2 separate regions of the Homo sapiens genome follow, and region 2 is linked to region 1. Evidence: promoter capture Hi-C in 16 types of primary human blood cells and fetal thymus (Javierre and others, 2016). All regions are on one chromosome and are shown on one strand. The core of a region is centred on a gene start or on the middle of the fragment in contact, and the rest is flanking DNA. Distances in the headings are between cores, read along the strand shown.

Region 1 (5,716 bases), core at 1,993-4,492:
TCCTGCCTCAGCCTCCTGAGTAGCTGGGATTACAGACCCGCACCACCACACCTGGCTAATTGTTTTGTATTTTTAGTAGAGACGGGGTTTCACCATGTTGGGCAGGCTGGTCTCGAACTCCTGACCTCAGTTCAGGATAGTTTTTAAGCCTTGAGAATGGATGAGATTGCATAGTGTATGAGTGTAGATAGAAAGGAGAAATCCAAGGTTGGGGCTCTGGGGCACTCCAACATTAAATAATCAAAAAGAAGAAGAGGAACCAACAAGATAGACACAGAAGAAGTGACGTGAGACAGGAAGGAAAATAGAATATGTGTCCTGGAAGCCAAAGAAAAGCAGAGTGGTTGAATGCTGCTGTCAGGTCAAGGCAGGCAAGGACTGTGGCTTGGCCAGTAGATTAGCAATGTGAATGTCATTGGAGATCTTAAAGTGGGCAGTTTCAGTGGGGCAATCCGCGTGAAAACATGATAGGAAGGGAGGACAGCACTTGGGGAGAGTATTCTTCCAAAAATTTTCTCTACTCTGAAGAGAAAGAATCAAATAAGATAAGAAGCTGGAAGGGTCTAGTAGACCTGTGAAGTGGTGCTGTTGTCACCATGTACCCATGCTTTGATAGAATAAAACAAATTGCCCAAGTTTTTTTATTATTGTATATGGTGAGAAGCCGTTATTCTGAACCCAGAGCTCATATTCTTAACCTACACTCCACAACAAAGAGATGAAAGCAAGAGCTTCATTTATTGGTACATCTATGGGAACCAGCACAGGCCTATGGGCAAAAAGAGCCAAAAGAAAATTATGGAATACTTAAAGGAAACAGACTATTAGTCTTAATTTTAAATTTTCTATATACTATCTACCTATGCCTAATTTAAATTTCGTAGATACTCTCAGCCTGATGCAGTGGCTCACATCTGTAATCCCAGCACTTTGGGAGTCCAAGACAGGTGGATCACTTGAGGTGAGGAATTCAAGACCAGCCTGGCCAACATGGTGAAACCCCGTCTCTGCTAAAAATACAAAAATTAGCTGGGCTTGGTAGTGCACACCTGTGATTCCAGCTACCTGGGAGGCTAAGGGATGAGAATCATTTGAATCCAAGAGGTGGAGTTGGATTGCACCACTGCACTCCAACCTGGGTGACAGAGCAAGACTCTGTCTCAAAAATTAAATTAATTAATTAATTACATAAAATAAATTTATCTAGATACTGTCATATATATAGCTTTCTCATATTATTTTAACTGGAATTCTATGAAGGAGAAAATGCATGTCTTTTCTACAAATGTCAACTTCCCATTGGAGAAAGTAGCTGTCCAGGATCGGTCTTCCAGGGAGGCAGAAGCAGCATCCCTTAAGATTTTCAGTGTTTATTTTCAGTAATTTCCATACCTGACCTCTCATCAAACACATCCATTTATCCATACATTCATTCAACAAACATTCCTGATCTTCTGTGTCACCAAATCTCTTCTAGAAGCTGAGGGTGCTACAATGATCAAACCACACTAAGATCTTAGTTCTCACGAAGTTTACATTAAATGGGAAAGGGGCAGACATTTGAAACAAAACAAGTAGAGTTTTGGATGATGACAAATATAATTTTTAAGCACTTTATGGCATAGAGTAAAATCAGTGCAGGCTACTTTGAATAGGTAGGAAAGTCTCTTCAGGTGGTTGACATTGATTGAAACTGAATGAAGAAAAGGAAGCAGCTTTTCCTAGCTCTAGGGAAAGCTGGGTCCAAAAAACGAATGAGTGAAAGGCCCTCTCTTAAGTCTTAGAAGAACAAGCTAAAGAAGTCAGAAGTATAGTGAGGGTAGACAAGTGAAGTTTTAGAAGTCAGCAGCACAGAATGAGCCAAATCCCACAGGTTGCGGATCGTATTCTAAGCATGATAGGAAGCTATTGGAGATCTTGAATTCAGATCCCACTGGCTCCTAGTGGCAGATGGATTGTAGGAGATGAGGGTGAAAACCAGGAATCCAGTTGAAAAGCCACTGGAGTGGCTCAGCCAAAGGGAATGGTGGCTGGAATGGAGGGTTGGACTAGGTTGGCAGCTGGAAGGGATGTTAGACCAAGAAATCTGTGCTATGGAAAGAGGGATAATCTGATGGATTCACAGAATATTTTGGACTTAGAGCTGGCAGAATGATAACGGAATGCCGGGGGTTGGGGGGGTGGGGGAGGCAGTGAATGATCACAGGAGAGAAACAAAAAGTGACCACCTAGGTTTCTGGCAAAAAACAGGCTGGGTGATGATGCCTTCTACTGGCAGGGCACAGTTTGAGGAAGCAGCAGGATTGGGATGGGACTGGAAAAAAGAAATCATGAGATCTCTATGCGATACCTCATCGGCGATGTTGACCAAGCAGTTGGATGTGTTGCAGGGAAAAGTGAGATATTCAACCTGAAATTCAAGTCCCACCCCTCATAAAGCTATTCTTAACAAAACCGGTCCAAAGTATCTTACCCTCCTTTGAAATCTTTATGACACTTCCTATCCAAACTTCATTGGGCAAGTGTATTTGGTTATCTTCTGCCTTGTGGTATGTTTTGCAGATTTTTTTCTTTTTTTTCTTTTTTTTTTTTTTTTTGCAGATGTTTCTAATTCAGAAGACGAGTTCTGAATTAGAACCCAAGAATTGCACTCCTATTTCTGTCCCTAAGAAGCTGGGTGATCAATGGGTGTCACTTATTCTTTAAAGGTGACCATGTCCTCACCTAAAATTAGAGTTAGGCAAGGATTAGGTAATTAATGTATTGCTTATGTTACTAAGTAATAGTTAAGTAATTTATTTCATAATTACTTCACTCATTGAAATCAAGCACTATGAACTTCTTTAAAGGTCCATAGCAGAGAGCACAAAGCGTGTACGCAGTAGGCACTCAATAAATGCAGACAGACTGACATGCACAGTCAAGCTAAACTCTTTAAATTCCTAAAAGAGTAATTGTTAATGTTTTGAGGAAGAGTCCAGCATCTGAAGGAATGAGGGGCACAGGTTGGGAAGTGCCCGACTTCCTGCCCCACCTGGGGACCCCGCCGCCTTTCAGTGGCTGCGCCCTCCTCCGCCCCAAACCCTCCCAGTCTGGGAGCCCAGGGTCCCACGTGGGGATGACGGGGCCGGGCTGGTGCGTACCTGGCGGGTAATACCGGAGCAGGAGGCTCTTGAGCTTCATTTTCTTGCTCTCTTATCCCCGGCCGATGGGCTTCGTAGCCTTGGAAACGGCTAAACAGCAGCGGGACGCGGGTGCGCATGCGCAGGTTGCACCGCGCGGTCCTGGGGCGCAGAGCTGGGAGGTCTGGCTCCGCGGGCGGTTGGTGGCGACCCGGGGCTCCGGCGCGCGGGGGGCGAGTGTTCTGGAGGTGTCTAGAGTGAAAGAGGTGAGGGCACCTCGTGTCCTCACTAAGGGCGACCTCAGAGGAGCTAGGCATGGCCGGGAACCGACGGCCTAGGCCACAGCCTGGGCTGCATGCACTTTTTTAGCACACTGCGTTTCCCAAAAGGAAGGCTGGGAGGAAAAGCCCATCGCTAATTACTACTCTAGGGCCCCAGCCCGTGCCCTGTCCTTGTCCTCCCAAAAGAAAAATGACCTCAACTTAATATTTTGCATTTCCTGACTCTGTGCCCTACATTGCTTTAAACGGTGTATGCACACATACTCATACAATCCTAACAAGGTGTGAGTTATGCACCACTTCTTAAGGATGAAGTAACTCAGAATTAGAGAAAGTGGAGAACTACCAGAGGTCGCAGCCTAAATGGATAGGCGGGAATGGAAGGCAGGTGCGTCGGAACCTACACCAGAAAGCCTACACCTGTGCTCTCAACCTGGGCTTAAAACTCTCCAGGCCTTCATGCGGCTTGTCCAATTTCTTGCCAGCATCGTTGTTTGCCTGCCACGTTTCCATGAGAAAGCCTGCGGAGAGACAGAGTCAGCCAACCAGCTTGTCAATTTCCTTTAAGGAATTTGGCCTCAACTGGAATTTCTCAAACTTGAGTCATTCCTGTGTTATCTGCGCAACTATGAGCCATATCTCTCCTTACCTCTTCCAGAGATCCATACCTAAGTTTTAAGTTCTTAAAATGTCTCTAGATTGACTCACTTATTTTACTTCACTTAGTAAAATGTAATCTTAAAAATTACCTTTACTTTTACAGTTACTGGCTGTTTACTGAAAATTATATGAAATTTAATTCCATCTGTGAAGTTTTTATTTCTAAATTTAAAATTATATGAAATTTTCAGTAAACAGCCAGTAACTGTAAAAGTAAAGGCAATTTTTTAAAGGCGTTGAATTGCTTGTTAAAGGCTGAGCCATCGGGAACTTGTGCGTCCATCTCAGGGAGACCTGGCCTTCAGAGATGACAGCATTCAGCCCCAGGAGGAGCCTGCAATTCGTCCTCGGTCTTCCCAGCTTGTGCCCCCCATGGGGATACAGGACAGTAAGGAGCCAAACAGAACCTGCTGCCTGAATGGGGGAACCTGCATGCTGGGGTCCTTTTGTGCCTGCCTCCCCTCCTTCTATGGATGGAACTGTGAGCACGGTGTACGCAAAGAGAATTGTGGGTCTGTGCCCCATGACACCCGGCTGCCCAAGAAGTGTTCCATGTGTAAATGCTGGCACGGGCAGCTCCGCTGCTTTCCTCAGGCATTTCTACCTGGCTGTGATGGCCTTGTGATGGATGAGCACCTCATGGCTCCCAGGACTCCAGAACTACCACCGTCTGCATGCACCACTTTTATATGCTAGCTGGCATCTGCCTTTCTATACAAAGTTACTATTAATTGACATTGACCTATTTCCAGAAATATGATTTTAGATATCATTCAAATTTCATGACCAGTAAAGGCTGCTGCTATAATGTCCTAACTGAAAGATGATCATTTGTTAGTTGCCTTAAAATAATGAATACATTTCCAAAATGGTCTCTAACATTTCCTTGTAGTACCAAATACTTCTTACCTCTTTGCCCTGCCCTCCCCACAAAAACTACTTCTTTTTTCAAAAGAAAGTCAGCCATATCTCCATTGTGCCTAAGTCATGTTTCTTGATACATGTAATTCTACCAAGGTCTTCTTAAAAGTTCTTTTAAACAATTGAATATTATCTTCAGATTATTAAAGACCAATCCTAATGTGGACCTTAGGATACAGTTTTGAGTAGAGTTGATAAAAATCAATTAAAATAGTCTCTTTAAATGGAAAGAAAGCCTCTTTAAGGGGAGGAAACAGAGGGCTGAAGGAATGGAAGTTCATCTGCATGTATGCAGGGAGACTGGGTAGGAAAGAGGAAGCAAATGGGAGAGAGAGGTTGGAAAACATAAAATGGGTTACTTGATGGTGATTAGGTGGGTGTAGAGAAGAAAGTTAAAAGGCTAAATGGAAGGGTAAGTTTCCGTCATCTATAGAAAGCTATATGAGACAAGGACTCCAATTTTTTTCCCAAAGGTGTTGTAAAAAGAATGAAGTCTCCTTATAAAAAAAAAATTATACCTCAATGTCCCCAACAAGACTGCTTAATAAATTATGTTTCCTCCAAGCTATGCAATTCTTTTAACTGTTGTAGAAGAGAAAATGTTCACAATATATTTAGTTGTAAACCAAATGATAAAACTACATATTGTAAAGCCAACTTTTAAAATACATTGTATATATGCGTATGCACAGTAAAAATGGAAAATATATTGACCTAAAGGCATTGAATTAC
Region 2 (5,716 bases), core at 1,701-4,200, 1.5 Mb before region 1:
ACAAATACTGAGAATTGTCATTCTAGTGGTCAAAAATATCATTTTAGTGTTGTTTAAATTTGTAGATCTTAGACTTATAGTAAGGTTGAATACTTCTTAAATATGTTTCTGGTTGTGTTTCTTCCTTTATGAACTCTCTATTCATATCCTTTGTCTGATTTTTTATGAGACCATTCATGCTAATCTTTACTCTTCTTTATTTGAAATAGCCCTTTATTTTAAGTATATAACAGTTTATCTGCCATAGGTTACACATATTTTTCCACTGTCATTTGCCTTTTAAATCTGGACAAAAGTATTTTGTTTTCCATATGTTATATTTTAGTCCATAATTACATATTGAGGTCTTGATTTCTTTTCGTGTTTCATGCTGAAAGATTCTATATATCAAGAGTTTAGAAATATTCTCCTCTATTATGCTAATCATGTATGAATTAATTTTATGCATTTAAGTCTCTAATGCATTTAAAATTTACTTCAGTATTTTATGAGAAAATGTCATGTTTTCTCCAGAATATTTAGCAAAACTCCAACTATCTACTCCACATATATCTTGAAAATCTCAGAGACACCCCAAACTCAGATCTTCTTCTCCTTTCCTTCTTTAAATATCTGCTAGCTCATCAAATGGCATTACCATCACTCCCAGTCATTCTGGCCAGAAACTGGGTAACCATTTTGATATCATCTGATATGGCTAAGCTTTGTGTTCCCACCCAAATCTCATCTTGAATTGGAATCCCCATAATCCCCACATGTCAAGGGAGAGGCCAGGTGGAGGTAATTGGATCGTGGGGGCAGTTTCCTTCATGCTGTTCTCATGATAGTGAGTGAGTACTCATGAGATCTGATGGTTTTATAAGTAGCTGGCATTTCCCCTGCTGGCTCTCATTCTGTCTCCTGCCGCCCTGTGAAGAGGTGCCTTCTGCCATGATTGTAAGTTTTCCGAGGCCTCCCCAGCCATGTAGAACTGTGAGTCAGTTAAACCTCTTTCCTTTCTAAATTACCCAGTCTTGGGTAGTATCTTCATAGCAGTGTGAGAACAGACTAATATACCTTCCTCTTTTTCCCTCTTACCTCCATCCAACTACCAAGGACTCCTAAAAACCTCTTAGATCTTTTCACTTCTTTGCAGAGTCAGCACCATGCTGCCTTCACCTCCAACCTACCTGCACCACTACAAGCCTTCCTATCTGGTCTCCTCACACCTATTCCTCCTGACTCCTAATCCATTTTTCATACTGCAGAGACCTTATGCATGATCATCTAATCTTATCACTCTTTACCTAAAACACCTATTGGCATTTTATTGTCCTTAGGAAAAAGATCAAAGTCCTTAACATAATCTTTAAGACCTGAGTGGTCTGGCCCCATCCAGCCTTTCCAGCCTTGTCCTGGGCCCCTCTGCTTGCTGCATAACTGAACATACCATGTCACGCTCTTCTCAGTAAGGTGCCTTTCCTCCATCTCTTGCCTCTCAGCCCCCCTCTGCTCATCCCTTTACCCCTACACCCACCATACCCATATATACCCCACCAGCAATCTCACCCTTAGGCATTTTTTCATGAGACCCACCCTGATCTCAGGGCGCAGTGGGACTCACTGAAGTAGGTTTAAACATCACTCTAACTGCTTTTTGAAAACAAGTGGTCTATTCTATTCAGCCCTGATAGTTTTTCAGCCTACAGAGGACCACAGAATAGTTCCTAAAGTCATTTAGGGGTTGTGCTGTTAATGCGTTTAACAGAAAACTGGTCCCAGGAGATGCTCCATGGAAAAAAGTGTTCTGTGGCCAAATAAATGTGGGACATGATACATCCCACGTGCAGATTCATAAAGGATGTCTGTGTGCTCAAGGTTCTCAGAGGTCTTAACAGTAAATTTATCTTTCAAATCTATTTGATCATAGAACCATTTTTTTCCTTAAAGAGAATCTATTGTTCCTGAGAACTAGTGTTCCACAGGAGAGGCTGATAAAATATTAACTGCTTCCATACAAGGAGTATGGTGCTTCTGCTCTTGAGGTTGAGCTACCTTGGAATCAAATACTCTTTCATTGTACCTGAGGTTTAGCAGAAGTTACACTTGGCCAGCTACTGAGTGTTCAAAAACTCTCTGCTTGACCGAGTGGAGTGAATCGGGCAAATCATTGCTATATAATTAGATACTCAATCCAATGTCATATTTACCATATTAAACTGGCTTTCTTAGGCCATCAGATAAAGTATAGGGTGTGGTATGTGGGGGACTCTGTCCTCTCTTGCTGAACCTAGGCTTCTGGCTGAAAATACGCTTCCTCCAGTCATCTGAACAGAGAGCCTCCCTGCTCTTCAAGCATTTCATTCCTTCTACACAGTTCTCTCCATAAGGCCCACTGTCCTGGCCTAGGTCCTGTCCACCCTTCAGTTACTGTCTTACTTTGGGACCACTCTTGTCACCGAAGCTTTGCAATTCTGCCCCCTTGGAATTATCTGGCTGAGGACCAGTGGATGGAAGGAAAGATACCCTGATGCAACATTAATTCTCTAGGATTTGCTTTATTTTTTTACCTGAAACCATAGACTGGACATAAGGTAACCGTACTTCAACAGGGAAGCCAAAGATTCTTCCAAGCCCATTGACATTGTCATTTGAACAGCTGGGACACAAGTGACCCATTCCTTTCTCACCAGAGCAGGAAATCCTTGTGCATTATTAAAGGTAGAATGATGTTACTATATCTTTCTCTCTGTCTTTTAACTCAACTATTTTTTGATATTTGTCTTTCAGTTCACAATAGAATATTACAATTTCTAGTTCAATTTTTATGGTAAAATACCATCAGTGCTTTAATTTCATTGACATTTTCATTGAATTTCTTTGATGCTCAGCATCTTTCATGTGGTTATTTGCTCTTCATATGTCTTTACTTGTGAATTATCTTTTCAAATAATCTGCCCATTTAAAAAATTTTGGTTGTTTGTCATACTATTGATTTCAAAGAATTCTTTACATATTCTGGATACAAGTTCTTTGTCAGGTATACATTTTGCTCATCCATGCATTTTTTTAATGGTATCTTTTGGGGAGTAAAGTTTTCAATTTTGGTAATTGGTCTAATTTATCAATTTTTTTTCTTTTATGGTTTGTGCTTTTCTGGTATTGTAAGAAATCTTTGTCTACTTCAAGATGGTGAAATTTTATCCGATGTTTTCTTCTAAAGTGTTTTTAAAATAGGTCTGCTTTTAAGTTTAGGTGTAGAGTCTGTTTTGAGTTAATTTTTGTTTACGGTGTGACTTAAGGATGGAAAATATTTTTCCCATGTAAACATCCAGTTAGTCCAGCATCTTATTGAAAATACAGTCTTTTCCCCATTGGATTTCATTGCTACATTTGTTAGAAAACAATTGATTATATATGGGTCTATTTTTCTCTGGCTAGTTTTTCAAAATTTTAGTTTGAGATTATTGAAGCTTTACCTGCAGTTGCAAGTAGTAATAGAGAGAGATCCAATGTAAGCTTCACCCAGTTTCCTCCAATGATAACATATTGTAAAACTACAGTACAATTTCATAACCAGGATACTGGTTACCCTTTTCCCTTGCGCCACAACTGTCTTTAATTCCTGGAAACCACTAGTGTATTTTGCATTTTTGTAATTTCAAGAATATTGCATAAATGGAATCATATAGTGTGTAGCCTTTTGAGATTGATTTTTTTTTCTACTCAGCGTGATTCTTTGGAGATGCATCCAGGTTATTTTGGGTCAATAATTTCTCCCTTTTTATTGCTGAGCAGTATTCCAAAGTATGGATGTCCCAGAGTTTGTTTAACCAGTCCCCTGTTGAAAGGAATCTGGATTGTTTTCAGTTTTCAGCTATTATAAAAAAGGTGGTGTAAACTGTCATATATAGGTTTATGTGTGAACATAAATTTTCATTTTTCCGGGACAATTGCCCAGAAATTCAATTGCTGGGTCATATGGTAGTTGCATGCTTAGTTTTATAAAAAGAGCCAAAATGTTTCCAGAGTGGCTTATGCATTTTATATTCCCCACCAACGATGTCTGAGTGATTCAGTTTCTCTACATCCTTGCCAGCATTTGGTGTTATCACTATTTTTTATTTGGGCCATTCTGATAGGGGTAAAATGATAGCTCATTGGGGTTTCAGTTTGAATTCCCCTAATGATAAATGATGTTTAGCATCTTTTCCTGTGCTTATTTGATATCTGCATATCCTGTGAAGAAATGTTTCTTTCTGTCTTTTGTCCATTTTCTAATCCTATCACATCACATCAAGGCTACATACTGTCAATGAGATTTATGATCATTGACGTTGATGTTGATCACTTAGCTGAGGTAGTGTTTGTCAAGTTTCTCTACTATAATGTTACTCCTTCTCTCCCTTTCCATACTTAACAATTTGGGAGGAAGTGACTTCCTTCCAAAGAAAGTGTTGTGTAGTCCACACTTATCAAGAAGGGAGTTATGCTCTTGCTCTTTAAGGGTAAAGTAGCTACATGAATTATTTGGAATTCTTCTGGATGAAAGATTTGTTTATTCTCCTCCATTTGTGTATTTATTTAATCATTTATTTATGGGTTCATGGATATTTATTTTATACTTTAGGTTATAATCCAATACTTTGGCCATTGGGAGTTCTTTCAGTTGGCTCCTATTACCTCTTTGCCACATCCCCATTAATGTGGTTAATTTTTTGTTTTGTGGCTAATTTTTTGTTTTGTTTTTTAAAACATATATACGTTCTGGCACTGCAAGATGCTTCAGCCTCATCTTGTGTATTTCCTGCTCCAGTTCTAGAGTCATTCATTTCTCTAAGGATCTCTGGTTTTTTTAATTGGAGAATAGTATTAAAAACAAGATTTGGGTGCTAAGCTGTGCTTGTTTTTACTGGGATATCATTGCTTTTAGGTCCTCTCAGCTGACAAAGTGAGGAAGTGCATGTGTATACTAACCCATGGACATGTGCTTATCCATAAATATTGCATGATGTAGTTATCTTTGTCTATATTAAGCTAAACATGAATTCACAGTGATGTCTCCAACTCTAGTTTGTTACAGCATGAATGGTTCTAGCCTTCTCCCCTTGCTTATTTGTAAACCCTTCACACCAACAACCAAATACTGCCTTTCATCATCCATCATTTATTTACTTAATTGTTCAATTTCAGTATCCAGGTATAGCAGTATCAGAATTGTTAACTTATACCCTTGTGGAAAACAACTTTATGAACTAGAGTATTGTGTTTATGTACCACTTATTTTGCATTTAGTCTTATCAATCCTACCCATTTCCAAAGTCACTTAGGTCAGCTCCCCCCCAGACCCCTTTGTGAGGTTGTTCCATACAGTTGTAATATAGTTAGAATCTTTTCTCACAGTTTGCATTCTTTCCTGAATCTTCTAACTAGAGGAGGCTCTTTTATTTACATTTGCTTATGTAAGTATAATTTTTCAAGCATCATTAGCTGAAAGGGCTATCTTTTCTTCATTGAATTGCTTTTGAACTTTCGTCAAAAATCAGCTGGCCATATTATGTGGGTCTATTTTGGGCTCTTCTTTTTCATTGATTATGTGTCTATTCCTCTACCTTTATTATGTCATAACAACTGTAGTTTCATAATAACTATTGAAATTGGGCAGAATAATTCCTACCACCTTATTTTTTTTCCAAAACTGTTATAACTATTCTAGATCCTTAGCCTTTTCATATAA

Evidence for each region. Contacts are between HindIII fragments. The CHiCAGO score rates a contact against its expected background, and 5 or more counts as called.
Region 2: a fragment that was not itself captured here is called in contact with the fragment with the promoter of DAW1 in region 1 in 1 of 17 cell types (M2 macrophages); the score reaches 6.2 in M2 macrophages.

Annotation. Positions count from the first base shown.
Region 1 is chr2:227,869,157-227,874,872 of GRCh38, reverse strand. It overlaps DAW1 (dynein assembly factor with WD repeats 1), which reads right to left and starts at 3,242. Exons shown (of 13, transcript NM_178821.3): 1 at 3,144-3,242. The coding sequence starts at 3,183. It also overlaps the pseudogene CRIPTOP2. The HindIII fragment of the contact is 8,065 bases long and covers 1-5,716 here.
Region 2 is chr2:229,399,544-229,405,259 of GRCh38, reverse strand. The region is part of intron 10 of DNER (delta/notch like EGF repeat containing); the gene reads left to right. Among named protein-coding and RNA genes, the nearest start is that of PID1, 130 kb to the right of the region's middle. The HindIII fragment of the contact is 1,009 bases long and covers 2,446-3,454 here.